3 separate regions of the Homo sapiens genome follow, and all the other regions are linked to region 3. Evidence: promoter capture Hi-C in human tissues and cell types (Jung and others, 2019). All regions are on one chromosome and are shown on one strand. Each heading gives the region's core, a stretch centred on a gene start or on the middle of the fragment in contact. The rest is flanking DNA. Distances are from core to core; before and after follow the strand shown. Region 1 has its middle 43 kb from the start of RBBP6. Region 2 overlaps HS3ST4 (heparan sulfate-glucosamine 3-sulfotransferase 4). Region 3 holds the start of AQP8 (aquaporin 8).

The links. Contacts are between HindIII fragments. The study calls those that stand out against the background at their distance.
Region 1: a fragment that was not itself captured here is called in contact with the fragment with the promoter of AQP8 in region 3 in 1 of the 25 tissues and cell types used here (lymphoblastoid cells).
Region 2: a contact is called between a fragment that was not itself captured here and the fragment with the promoter of AQP8 in region 3, in 1 of the 25 tissues and cell types used here (dorsolateral prefrontal cortex).

Annotation. Positions count from the first base shown.
Region 1 is chr16:24,580,256-24,584,300 of GRCh38, forward strand. No RefSeq gene overlaps it. Among named protein-coding and RNA genes, the nearest start is that of RBBP6, 43 kb to the left of the region's middle. The HindIII fragment of the contact is 5,451 bases long and covers 1-4,045 here.
Region 2 is chr16:25,770,383-25,774,434 of GRCh38, forward strand. All of the region lies in intron 1 of HS3ST4 (heparan sulfate-glucosamine 3-sulfotransferase 4), which reads left to right. Among named protein-coding and RNA genes, the nearest start is that of HS3ST4, 80 kb to the left of the region's middle. The HindIII fragment of the contact is 6,913 bases long and covers 1-4,052 here.
Region 3 is chr16:25,215,139-25,219,014 of GRCh38, forward strand. AQP8 (aquaporin 8) reads left to right here and starts at 1,809. Exons shown (of 6, transcript NM_001169.3): 1 at 1,809-1,919; 2 at 2,060-2,307. The coding sequence starts at 1,908. The HindIII fragment of the contact is 27,087 bases long and covers 1-3,876 here.

The sequences.
Region 1 (4,045 bases), core at 1,297-3,796, 630 kb before region 3:
AAATGTGAAAAAGGATAGGTTTTTCAATAAGCTTTGAGTGAACTGGTTAACCACTTGGAGAAAAAAAAATCACATCTTAAAATTCTAGACTAAATATTGTTTATCCAAAATTTTATATATTTAGGATTTAAAATATTCTTTTGTATAAATTTTGGTACCAAAATAAAATGTTGATAATTGTGTGTTTTGACCTATCATATTACATTCCTGGATTATATTCTTCCCATCTTCTAGGATGACCATTTTTTGATAGGTTAAGAGTTTATTATTTCAACTGGCCAGTCAACTGGAAGCCCAGGAGCTTCCCCGATATTTTTGATAATGGTTATATGAGATCTGGTTTATCCTGATTTGCTCCTTTTTAATTTTCTGATGTCTCTTGTGCTGATTTTTCTCTTCAGAGCTTCTCATTATGGTACAGTCTCAATCTTTATACATTTTGTGACATTTCTGCCTATTTTCTGAGAACACATCACATCCTCTCATCTTCCTGTGCACACCATCGTCCCTTCTTTTCTGTTCTACTTCATAGTTTCTTCATCTCTGAAACTGAAATTAGCCATTATTTTTCTGAACCAAGGATGAATTATGCCATTAGAGGGCAGAAGAAGCTGCTTGTTCTTTAAACTAGCAACTGTTTCCCCCTCTGCAATTTTTTAAAATTACAATCTCAATTATTACACAAATAAACATCTGAAAATTTTAAATGCCACTAGCAGCCGGGTGCGGTGGCTCATGCCTGTAATCCTAGCACTTTGAGAGGCTGAGGCGGGTGGATCACTTGAGGCCAGGAGTTCAAGACGAGCCTGGCCAACATGGTGAAACCCCATCTCTACTAAAAATACAAAAAAAAAAAAAAAAAAAAAATTAGATGGGCATGGTGGTGCACACCTGTAATCTCAGCTACTAGGGAGGCTGAGAATCACTCCAACCCCGGAGCTGGAGATTGCGGTGAGCCACTGCACTCCAGCTTGGGTGACATAGTGCGACCCTGTCAAAAAAAAAAAAAAAGCCACTAACAATAAAACAGAAATGCCAACAAAACAAAATTCTGGTGCCTTCAGGCATTTAGAGTTACCTTTAAGTCCAAAACCAGTGTGATTCTCCATCTTCCCCCTCCCCCCACCGATATTGACTTTTCTACCAGGATATGTCTGTGGTAGTTAGCATTTTCATTAAATTTGCCCAGATCATAATACATTCTCAATTTTGCAGGCTTTAAGAATTTAATTTTTCTCACAAAGTTGTACATTGTTTAAAAAGTCATAAAGTTCTTCAGGACTTACAACAGGCCGGGTGTGATGGCTCACGCCTGTAATCCCAGCACTCTGGAAGTCGCGGTGGGCAGATCATCTGAGGTCAGAAGTTCAAGACCAGCCTGGCCATGGTGAAACCCCGTCTCTACTAAAAATACAAAAAATTAGCCGAGCATGGTGGTGCACGCCTGTAATCCCAGCTACTCAGGAGGCTGAGGCAGGAGAATCACTTGAACCCGGGAGGCGGAGGTTGCAGTGAGCCAAGATCACACCATTGCACTCCAGCCTGAGCAACAAGAGCGAAACTCCATCTCAAAAAAAAAAAAAAAAAAAAAGACTTACAACAAAAACTTCATTCTCCTACTCTAATTAATTATATGCTGACTAATTCTTTACAGGCCATTTCAACTCTGCTAGTTCTTTCTTTAAAAAAGAAAAGAAGAATGTTATATGTAAATAACACACTCCTCCTATTACTTGATTTTTCAGTCTCAAGTATGAGCCACAATTGACTTTAGCAACACCCACACACATACACCTCTACCCTCTCCCACCCTCTCAATAAAAGTTTTACCATTTGGATTAAATAAAAATGGTGGTATACATTATTATATATCTATATAAACAGTTCCACATTGAGTCACTTGGTATAGTAGGATTGCTTTCATGTAAAATGTTGTTTTTCCTGGAATTAATATCAACTCCCGTTTCAAAAGTTTGATTTTCTATGGCTCACTGGAAACAAACCTCCTCCCAGGATATTCAAATAAGTGTTCATCAGTTTTACCCTTTTTCTTGGGATATTCCCCTCCAGAACCTTCTTTCTACCTATCTAATAAAAATTGGGGCCAGGCCCAGTGGCTCATGCCTATAATCCCAGCACTTTGGGAGGCCGAGGTGGGAGGATCAATTGAGGTCAGGAGTTTGAGACCAGCCTGGCCAGCATGGTGGAACCCTGTCTCTACCAATAATACAAAAATTAGCCAGACGTGGTGGCACGCACCTTGTAATCCCAGCTACTCAGGAGGCTGAGGCTGGAGAATTGCTTGAACCTGCGAGGTGGAGGTTGCAGTGAGCAGAGATCACACCACTGCACTCCAGCCTGGGTGACAAGAATGAGAGAATCCATCTCGAAAAAAAAAAAAATGGCTGGGCACAGTGGCTCATGCCTATAACCCCAGCACTTTGAGAGGCCAACATGGGCCGATCAGTTGAGGTCAGATTGAGACTATCCTGGCCAACATGGTAAAAGCCTGTCTTTACTAAAAATACAAAAATTCGCTGGGGGTGGTGGCGCACGCCTGTAGTCCCAGCTACTTGGGAGGCTGAGGCAGGAGAATCGCTTGAACCCGGGAGGCAGGTGTTGCGGTGAGCCGAGATCGTGCCACTGCACTCCAGCCTGGCAACAGAGTGAGACTTTGTCTCGGCAACAACAACAAAGATTGGTTGCCCTCTAGACGTACCCCAAAACTGCCTGCTCCTGGGTCTTCCCCTCGCCCTCTCTTCTGCATTAGATCTTTGCCTTCCATCCTGTGTCTTTCTCTTCCTAGGTTTGCTTCCTCATTTGAGGTGGAGGACATGTGCTCTAGTAAGTTACTGCGGAAGGGTACCTGGGAGGTAAAATTTTTCAGAGCCTAAAATGTCACAAATGTTCTTACTCTACCCCGACACTTGATTTATGGTTTGGTTGGGCATAGAATTCTGCACTGGAAATCATTTGCATTCATACCTGGAGGCATTTCTCTATCATAATCCTGCTTCTGGCATTGCTAACCAGGCGTTCAAGCCATTCTGACTCCTAATCCATTTATATGCAATTTTTGCAATATTTTCCCCTCCCAGGATTCTTTGGTAACTTCCTTTTAACCTAGGTACATTTAGAAAATCCAATGTTGTGATGATGACGTTGCGACCCTTTTAAAATATACTTTGCCAAGTGCTCTATGAGCCCTTTCTTTCATGTCTTTCATGAAATTATGTCTTTTATGATTTTCTTGGAAACATTATTTTATTACTTGTGGGATAATACTCTCCATTCCATTTTTTTCTGCTTTCTTTTTTTGGGACTCATTATTTTGATATTAGATTTTCTGGACTGATCCTCTACTATTTTCCATTCTTGTGTTTTGTTTTGTTTTGTTTGACCAGGTTGGAGTGCAGTCATAGCTCACTGCAGCCTTGACCTCCTGGGCTCAAGCGACCTTCCCGCCTCAGCCTCCTGAATAACTGGGACCACAGGCACACGCACCACACCTGGCTAATTTTTTATTTTTTGTAGAAGTAGGGTCTCTCCATGTTGCCCAGGCTGGTCTCAAACTCGTGGGCTCAAGTGATCCACCTGCTTCAGCCTTCCAAAGTGCTGGGATTACAGGCGTGAACCAGTGCGCCCACCCTCCACTCATATTTTTTGTTGTGACGTTTCCTCAACACTTCAGTTCTTTACTTCTGCTGGCATATTTACAATTTCTTTTTTTCTTTTTCTTTTCTTTCTTTCTTTTCTTTCTTTCTTTTTTTTTTTTTTTTGAGATGGAATTTTACTCTGTCTCCAAGGCTGGAGTGCAATGGTACAATCTTGGTTCACTGCAACCTCTGCCTCCTGGGTTCAAGCGATTCTCCTGCCTCAGACTCCCGAGTAGCTGGGATTACAGGCGCCTGCCACTGCACCAAGCTAATTTTTGTATTTTTTAGTAAAGGCAGGGTTTCACCATGTTGGCCAGGCTGGTCTCGAGCTCCTGACCTCAGGTGATCCACTCGCCTCAGCCTCCCAAAATGCTGGGATTACAGGTGTA
Region 2 (4,052 bases), core at 1,215-3,714, 560 kb after region 3:
CATTTCATTTTCACAACCACCTTAGGAATTTGGTTCTATTATCACCTCTAGCTTATAGATCGAAAGACTAACACACAAGAGGGCAGGCAACCTCTCTCAGGCCACACATTGAGGAAGGGATGGTGCCTGAACTTGAGCTCAGCTCACTCTTTTAAGCCTAACACGCTCTACAATGGCTGAGGGGTGCAGTTGGGACATTTTGCAGACCAGGTGTGTGGAGTGGAACAGGGCCTGCCAGTCCTGTGAGTGAGCTACCTGGGGTAACTTTGCATCTGGAGCTGTACGGCCTGAATGGCTGCCCTGCTTTTTGTACATATATTGATGCATTTCGTTTGGGCTGCTTGCTTCCTGATACATTTCTCTCAACCAGTTAAAGCTTCGATGGAAGCTGAATGTTGCAACTGATGAAAAGCAATTAGTTTGGATGACATTTCTGATTGGCTTCCATATCATACTATTAATCATAACGGTGAATGTCTATTCAGTGCTTATGACGTGTTGGGAACTGCGCTAAGTGTTTTATACACATTGTCACTTTGGGTCCTCAGGATGATCCTGGGACGTGGCTACAGAAGTCACTTATTATGGTCCAACAGCCAGGATTTTTTTTTTTAAGTTCTGAGATACATGTGCAGAACATGCAGGTTTGTTACGTAGGTATACACGTGCCATGGTGGTTTGCTGCACCTATCAACCTGTCATCCAGGTTTTAAGCCCACATGCATTAGCTATTTGTCCTAATGCTCTCCCTTCCCTTGCCCCCCACACCCCAACAGGCTCCAGTATGTGATGTTCCCCTCCCTGTGTCCATGTGTTCTCATTGTTCAACTCCTACTTATGAGTGAGAACATGTGGTGTTCAGTTTTTCTGTTCCTGTGTGAGTTTCAACAGCCAGGATTTGAACCAGGACTTGGTAGAGTAGGGCCAAACCTCTGGAGCCTGTTCTTAGAAACTACCATCTGGCCACCATGTTGCAAGTTCATTTTCTGCTGTTCCCCATCCAGTGCTCTGTCTGCCCCAGCCACAGGACAGCTCCCTGTTGTGGGTTTCACATGCTAAGTGATTTCCTACCCCAGGGCCTTTGCACAGACTCTCCTCTCTGCTTGGTGTACCTTTCCTCCTCCTTTCCCCTTGGCAAACCACACTTCAAGACCTAGTTCAGATGTTACTATGGGAAGCCTTCCTTATCTTCTGTGGAAAGAACGGGTTGCTTTTTTCTCTGAAGACTTCTCATTGCTCTCCTTAGACTTTGGTGTCATAACTTGTGTGCCCCATGTAGTTGTCAATTCTTTGAAGCAGAGAATATAAGGGAACTATCTCACTAGCACTTGCAGTTTATGTTTATTGCAGTCTCCTCAATACCTAGTCCAATGACTGGAACAGAGTAGGTGCTCAAGGGCTTAATAAATATTTGTTGAGTGAATGAGTCTGTGTTCCTAGTGCCTTGGCTGGAGGAGAATAGAACATTGAGTACATACTGTAGGAGCTCAATGCATTTTTATGGATGGCTTCTTATCTTTCTGTTCCCTCTCTTTTACCTCTTTTTATCTTCTGGTTCCAAACAGCATTTAGTGGAAGATAGGATAACGTTTCTAGTCTGGCGTTGGCAAACTTTTTCTGTAAAGGGACAGATAAGAATTTTAGGCTTCATGAGCCATATGGTCTCTGTCACACCTACTCAACTCTGCCCTTGTAGCATGAAATAAAACTTTATGTACAAAACAAGGCAGCAGGCTAGATTTGGAACACAAGCTGTAGCCCGTGGACCCTTATTGTAGAGTATTCTTGTCATGACAAGTACTGAAAGATGGTATTTGGGCTTCTCTTATCACAATCAACATTATCTTAGTTGCCTAAACCACAGTCTTAAACTGAGCCTTGAAGAAAGTCTTCTCTGTTTGTTGTCATGCATAGTGTTTCTCTGAATGCATCATTGATAGCCCATTTAGCTGACATCTTACTAGAGAATTACAGTAGAGCTATGGTTATGTTTTGGAGTCAACTATATTTGGTTAGGATTCTGTGTTTATGCTGTGTGATCCCGGGTAAGTTACAGAGCCTCTCTGATCCTCTCTTTTGTCATCCGTGATACTGGCCTTAGGTCAGCATACTTATCTCCAAGAGTTTTAATGGGTTGATCCAAGTGAAAATGTTCAGTGTGTTTCAGTGTGTTTAGGGATTGAACAAATATTAGTTACTTTATCTTCTTATGGGCTTTTATTCAGAACCTCAGCCTTTCAACTGAAACATGGAAATACACACTGTAAAAGTCAGTGGAGCTCAGAAAGGCCCCCATGTCTATAGGATTCTAGAAAGAGTCTTTGAAAAGTGAGAGACATTTAAGTCTGAGGAATTCAGCGCTTCTAACTGTCTCACCATTCTCTTAGAGAGAGAGGGTGAGAAACGTTTGACATTTCATTTTCACACCTGTAATGTTACAAGTCTAATGCAAGCCTGGGAATCAAAGGTGGCTATGACGTCGAGAGATGGAGAAACGGCCATGGCAGGGTAGGTGCTGGACAGACCAAGGTTGAAGATGCCACGTTCAGCTCTGCTAGGTAGGTACCTTTGAAACTACAAGGTATCGAAGGGATTCTTAAGAAAATTCTGGGATGGGAAGGAGTAAGTATTCAGATTCTCTATTAGGAAAAAGAAGAAATTGGATCAGACAACCATACATAGCGATACATGCCACATACCGTACTTATATACATTCCTCAAGGACTTGTGTGTGGCTTACAGCAACTAAATGTCACACAAAACTGCTGCTGTCTGGTTCCTTATCTACCCACACTTCCCCAGTTTTGTTCCCAGACAGGATCTCTGCACAGCATTCTCAAATGTCTCCGTTCAGTTCAGGCTGACTTCTGTGTTCCTCAGCTCCAGCACCTCCATATTTTTACTGCTGAACTTTGGTGGCCTTCGATATTTTATGTCCTGGGAGTGGGGTCTACCGTGGCTTGGAAGACTGAGATGCTCCTTCCTGTCCAGTCCCATTGGTTTTGGCTCCTAATACTACAGAACACTTAAAACTTGAATTTGCCTTGGTTGTGAATTTGTCTCCCTAATAGATGAAAAGCTCCTTGAAGACAGGGGTTGTACCTCATAAACCCCTTTAACTCTCATCCCTAGCATGGTGTGTGGCACTTAATAAATGTTTGATGAGTGTTGCTGAATTTGAAAATAGGAAGTTATTTATCAATTTGGAGACACTTTCAAGTAGACAAACTGAAAACATCTTGAAATGCTGGCGATGCAGGAAAACAGGTTAAAAAAATTCAGTAGCTTTAGGGATAAAAGTGGTTTTTGGTGACATGGATGAATTGTATAGAGGTGGACTCTGGGCTTTCCATGTACTTGTCACAGAATATTGTACATTGTACCCAATAGGTAATTTTTCATTCTTCACCCCCTGCCATCCTCCTCTCTTCTGAGTCTCCCGTGTCGATTATACTACTCTGTATGCCCCTGTGCAAAACAGATTTTGTGCTGACTTCAAGATAGAGTGACCTGTCCCTTTAAACCAGCCCCCCTAAACCCTTGATGAATCTGACTATCTCGGTGACCAAAGCAACATCACTAGAGACTTGTTGCAATTGGTTGTATCATTGTCATTCCAAATGTCTGTTTTCTGGCACTTTCTTGTGGGAGCTCCTAGGAAGACAGCAGTCCCTCCAGAAATACCCCAGTTTCTGAAAGTTTTGTTGCTAAGAACTAGTCCCTGCCCATGCAGGTAAATAAGTAAGAGATAGTGTGATTGGGGAACAGGATGAATGAGCTAAATGAAGTACTTTGTGGAAAGTATTTAATATTTGGTAAGCGTGAGCTATTAAATCAGGGTAAACAGCCACAGTGAGAGTGCTTTGGATGGTTTCGCAGTTTGGGATTTAGCAAACATTGACCAGCTGCCTATGTGCCAGGCACTTCCTTAGTTGGTTCAAGACCTTCTGAGATAAACATTACTATTCTTTTCATTTTATAGTTGGTAAAACCAAGGTTCAGAAGATTAAGCAACTATCCCAAGACTTACAGCTCAAGGGCTGGAGCAACTA
Region 3 (3,876 bases), core at 559-3,058:
CGTGGAAACCACCATTCTACTTCTGTCTCTATGAATTTGACTAGTCTAGGTACTTCATACAAGTGGAATCAGATACAGTATTTATCCTTTTGTGACAGCCCACAAGTTCTGTGATCATATAAGCTGTGTAATCTTGGGAAACTCAATCTTCCTGACACTCCACTTCCTCGTCTGTGAAATGGTTGTAATAATAGTACCTGCTTCACAGGGTGGCAGTGAGGTTTAAATGAGATAATAGAAGGCACTTAGCCCCAGTGCCTGGCACATAGAAAGTGCTCACTATTAGCTATTAGTTACAGCTAAGCATGTATTGTAAATTAGTGGACACTGGTATTGTGTGTCTAGCACTGTCCTGAGCACTTTACCCGTATTATCTCATTTAAACTTCCCAACGACCCTATGACATGGTGAAACCACTAACATCCACACCTAACAGATGAGAAAACAAAGGCCCAGAGAGGCCAAGTCATGTGCCCAAGGGTTACATAGCTAGTTTACAGCAGAGCTGGGATTGAACGCCAGGCAGCCTATTTCCAAAGTTCATGGGTCTTGCCGCTGCATTGCATTACCTCTTGCCAGTCTCTGCTGCCTCTGTCTGTGAAGGATCGTCATCTATACACTCAGTCCTGGCTCAGGCTGTCACGGTGACTGCAGGTGTTTGAAGCTGTGGGACTCATTGGAAAAATAATTGAAAATGGGATTGCTGTTTCTTTCTTTTCTTTTTTCTTTCTTTCTTTCTTTTTTTTTTTTTTTTTTTTAGACAGGGTCTCACTCTGAGGCTGAAGTGCAGTGGCGCGATCTTGGCTCACTGCAACCTCTGGGTCCTGGGTTCAAGTGATTCTCATGCCTCATCCTCCTGAGTAGCTGGGATTACAGGCAAACACCAACACGCCCTCTCTTTCTTTCTCCTTCCTTCCTTCTTTTCTTTCTTTTTCTTTTTTCTTTCTTTCTTTCTTTCTTTCTTTCTTTCTTTCTTTCTTTCTTTCTTTCCTTCCTTCTTTTCTTTCTTTCTTTTTCTTTCTTTTTCTTTCTTTCTTTCTTTCTTTCTTTCTTTCTTTCTTTCTTTCTTTCTTTCTTTTTCTTTCTTTCTTTCTTTCTTTCTTTCTTTCTTTCTTTCTTTCTTTCTTTCTTTCTTTTCTTTCCTTTCTTTCTTTCTCTGTCTTTCTTTCTTCTTTCTCTTTCCTTTTTTTTTTTTTTCAGAGCCTTGCTCTGTTGCCCAGGCTGGAGTGCAGTTGCACAATCTTGGCTCTGCGCAATCTTCGTCTCCCAGGTTCAAATGATTTTCCTGCCTTAGCCCCCCAAGTAGCTGGGATTACAGGCGTGCACCACCACGCCCGGCTGAGTTTTGTATTTTTAGTAGAGACGGGGTTTCACCGTGTTAGCCAGGATGGTCTCAATCTCCTGACCTCGTGATCCACCTGCCTCGGCCTCCCAAAGTGCTGGGATTACAGGCGTGAGCCACTGCACCTGGCTGTTTGCTGTTTCTTAACATGTGAGGTTCCAACCCAGTGGGGCCCACTAACATGTGCTGTTCTGCTTTGGACCGTGGGGAGCTGGGGTGCTGGACCCATCTCCCACCTTCTACAGCCTGGAGTGTGCTCCCAGATGACACAGCCAAGCTGGCGTGTTTTTCCCTCACTGGCGGAAAGTTCAGCAATCCCTGACTCCCTCACCCTGCCCTGTTGAGATTTAAAAAAATTTCCTCTTCTGGGCCTCAGAGCCGCCTCCTACCTGAGGTTTATTGCTTTCTCTGCACCAGCATTGAGCCTCTGCAGCCCTTTAAAAGGGGCAGAGCCCATAGTGTGATCAGCAGGTCCTGTCCCTAGGAGATAAGAGTATCTTGCACAGCAGGTGCAGGTTTCCCAGCAGCTCAGGCAAGAGTCCGATGTTTGTGCCATCTGATCCTGATGTCTGGAGAGGTGAGCCCTCTGTCGGCATCTTCCTCTCCAGGCTGGCAGAGCAAGGGGGGCTGTGAATTAATTCAAGGTTGGGGGTCGGGGCCTTCTATATCTGGACTTGCCTCCCACCCGTGTCCTCTGTCCCTTTTTCCCTACGGCAGATAGCCATGTGTGAGCCTGAATTTGGCAATGACAAGGCCAGGGAGCCGAGCGTGGGTGGCAGGTGGCGAGTGTCCTGGTACGAACGGTTTGTGCAGCCATGTCTGGTCGAACTGCTGGGCTCTGCTCTCTTCATCTTCATCGGGTGCCTGTCGGTCATTGAGAATGGGACGGACACTGGGCTGCTGCAGCCGGCCCTGGCCCACGGGCTGGCTTTGGGGCTCGTGATTGCCACGCTGGGGAATATCAGGTGAGACCAGCTCTGAGGATTCAGCCTGATGCTGACTTGGGGCACTGGGTGTGGAAAGCAAAGGCGTTGTCAAGGACCCCTGGGCGCATACGTATTCGGGATTTCAAGGAGCGCTCTGGATAACTATGGGGTTGGGAGTCAGACTGGGGTCAACTCCAGACCCCGCAGCCTGTGAGCTTGTGACTTTGAGCAAGTCATTCTCTTTTTGAGTAGCTGGATCACAGGCATGCGCCGCAGCACCCAACTAATTTTTAAATTTTGTTGTAGAGATGGGGTCTCACTATGTTGCCCAGGCTAGTCTTGAACTCCTGGTCTCAAGCGATCCTCCTGCCTTGGCTTCCCAAAGTTTTGGGATTACAGGCATGAGACACCATGCCTGGCTGGCAAGTTACTCTCTAAACCCAAAGTTCCCCGCCTATAAAATGGGAATAGTAGCTTTTAAATGTTTTTTTTTTCAAGCCAACATATCTATATTGCTAACCATGTACCAGGCACTAGTCTAATTACTTTATAGATATTAGTTATTTAATCCTCACAAAAGCCTTGTGGGGTAGGTCCTGTTATTAGCCCCATTGTACAGCTGCAAAAGTGAAAGGCCATGTAATCTGTCCAAGCTTAGAGGGCCAGAAAGTGGCAGAGGCGGGAGTCAAGAACAAGCTGTCTGGCTCCAGCGCTCAAATCCAAGTGCCTCATGCGGAAGTCATGAGAATTAAATGAAGTAGAGCGCCTGGCACACACCAAACATACAACAGGCATTGGTTGCTGTGTTATTGTTACCACTAGAAGGGGGTTTTAGGGAAAGCAGAAATGCATAGAAGACCTGAGCCAGGTTTTCCCACCTGGGTATGCAGAGATCTGCAGTGGTCCTGGCTTGTCAAGAGGTGATCAAGAAGGAGGGGCAGGGAAAGGGACAGGCTTCTCTGGCTTAGCTCTCGTCTGGGTAGAGGCTCAATGGGGAGGTCTGTGGACATGGCTGCTGGTTCCCAGGAGAGCCAGCCATCACGACGAAGATCTTGAGTGGGGTGCCTGGCAGGGTGATCTGGGACATGGTTGGTCTGTATTAAATCTCACTCAAAAAATAGATCTGAATGAGGAAACAGAAATACTATTTCTGAGAAAACCAGAATGGAAAAGAGCTTTAACATCTCTTTAGGCCGGGTGCAGTGGCTCACGCCTGTAATCCCAGCACTTTGGGAGGCTGAGGCGGGTGGATCACCTGAGGTCAGGAGTTGGAGAGCAGCCTGGCCAACAGGGTGAAACCCTGTCTCTACTAAAGATACAAAAATTAGCTGGGCGTGGGGGCAGGCACCTGTGGTCCCAGCTACTTCGGAGGCTGAGGCAGGAGAATTGCTTGAACTGGGAGGGAGAGGTTGCAGTGAGCCGAGATTGTGCCACTGCACTCCAGCCTGGGCAACAGAGTGAGACTCCATCTCCAAAAAACAAACAAACAAACAAACAAACAAAAAACAAACCACATCTCTTTAGACGTCCAAGGGAGGCTGCAAGTGAAACAAAAAGTACATGATCTTCCCTTTGGACGGATCTGAGATTGAAGGCAACCTTTATCAC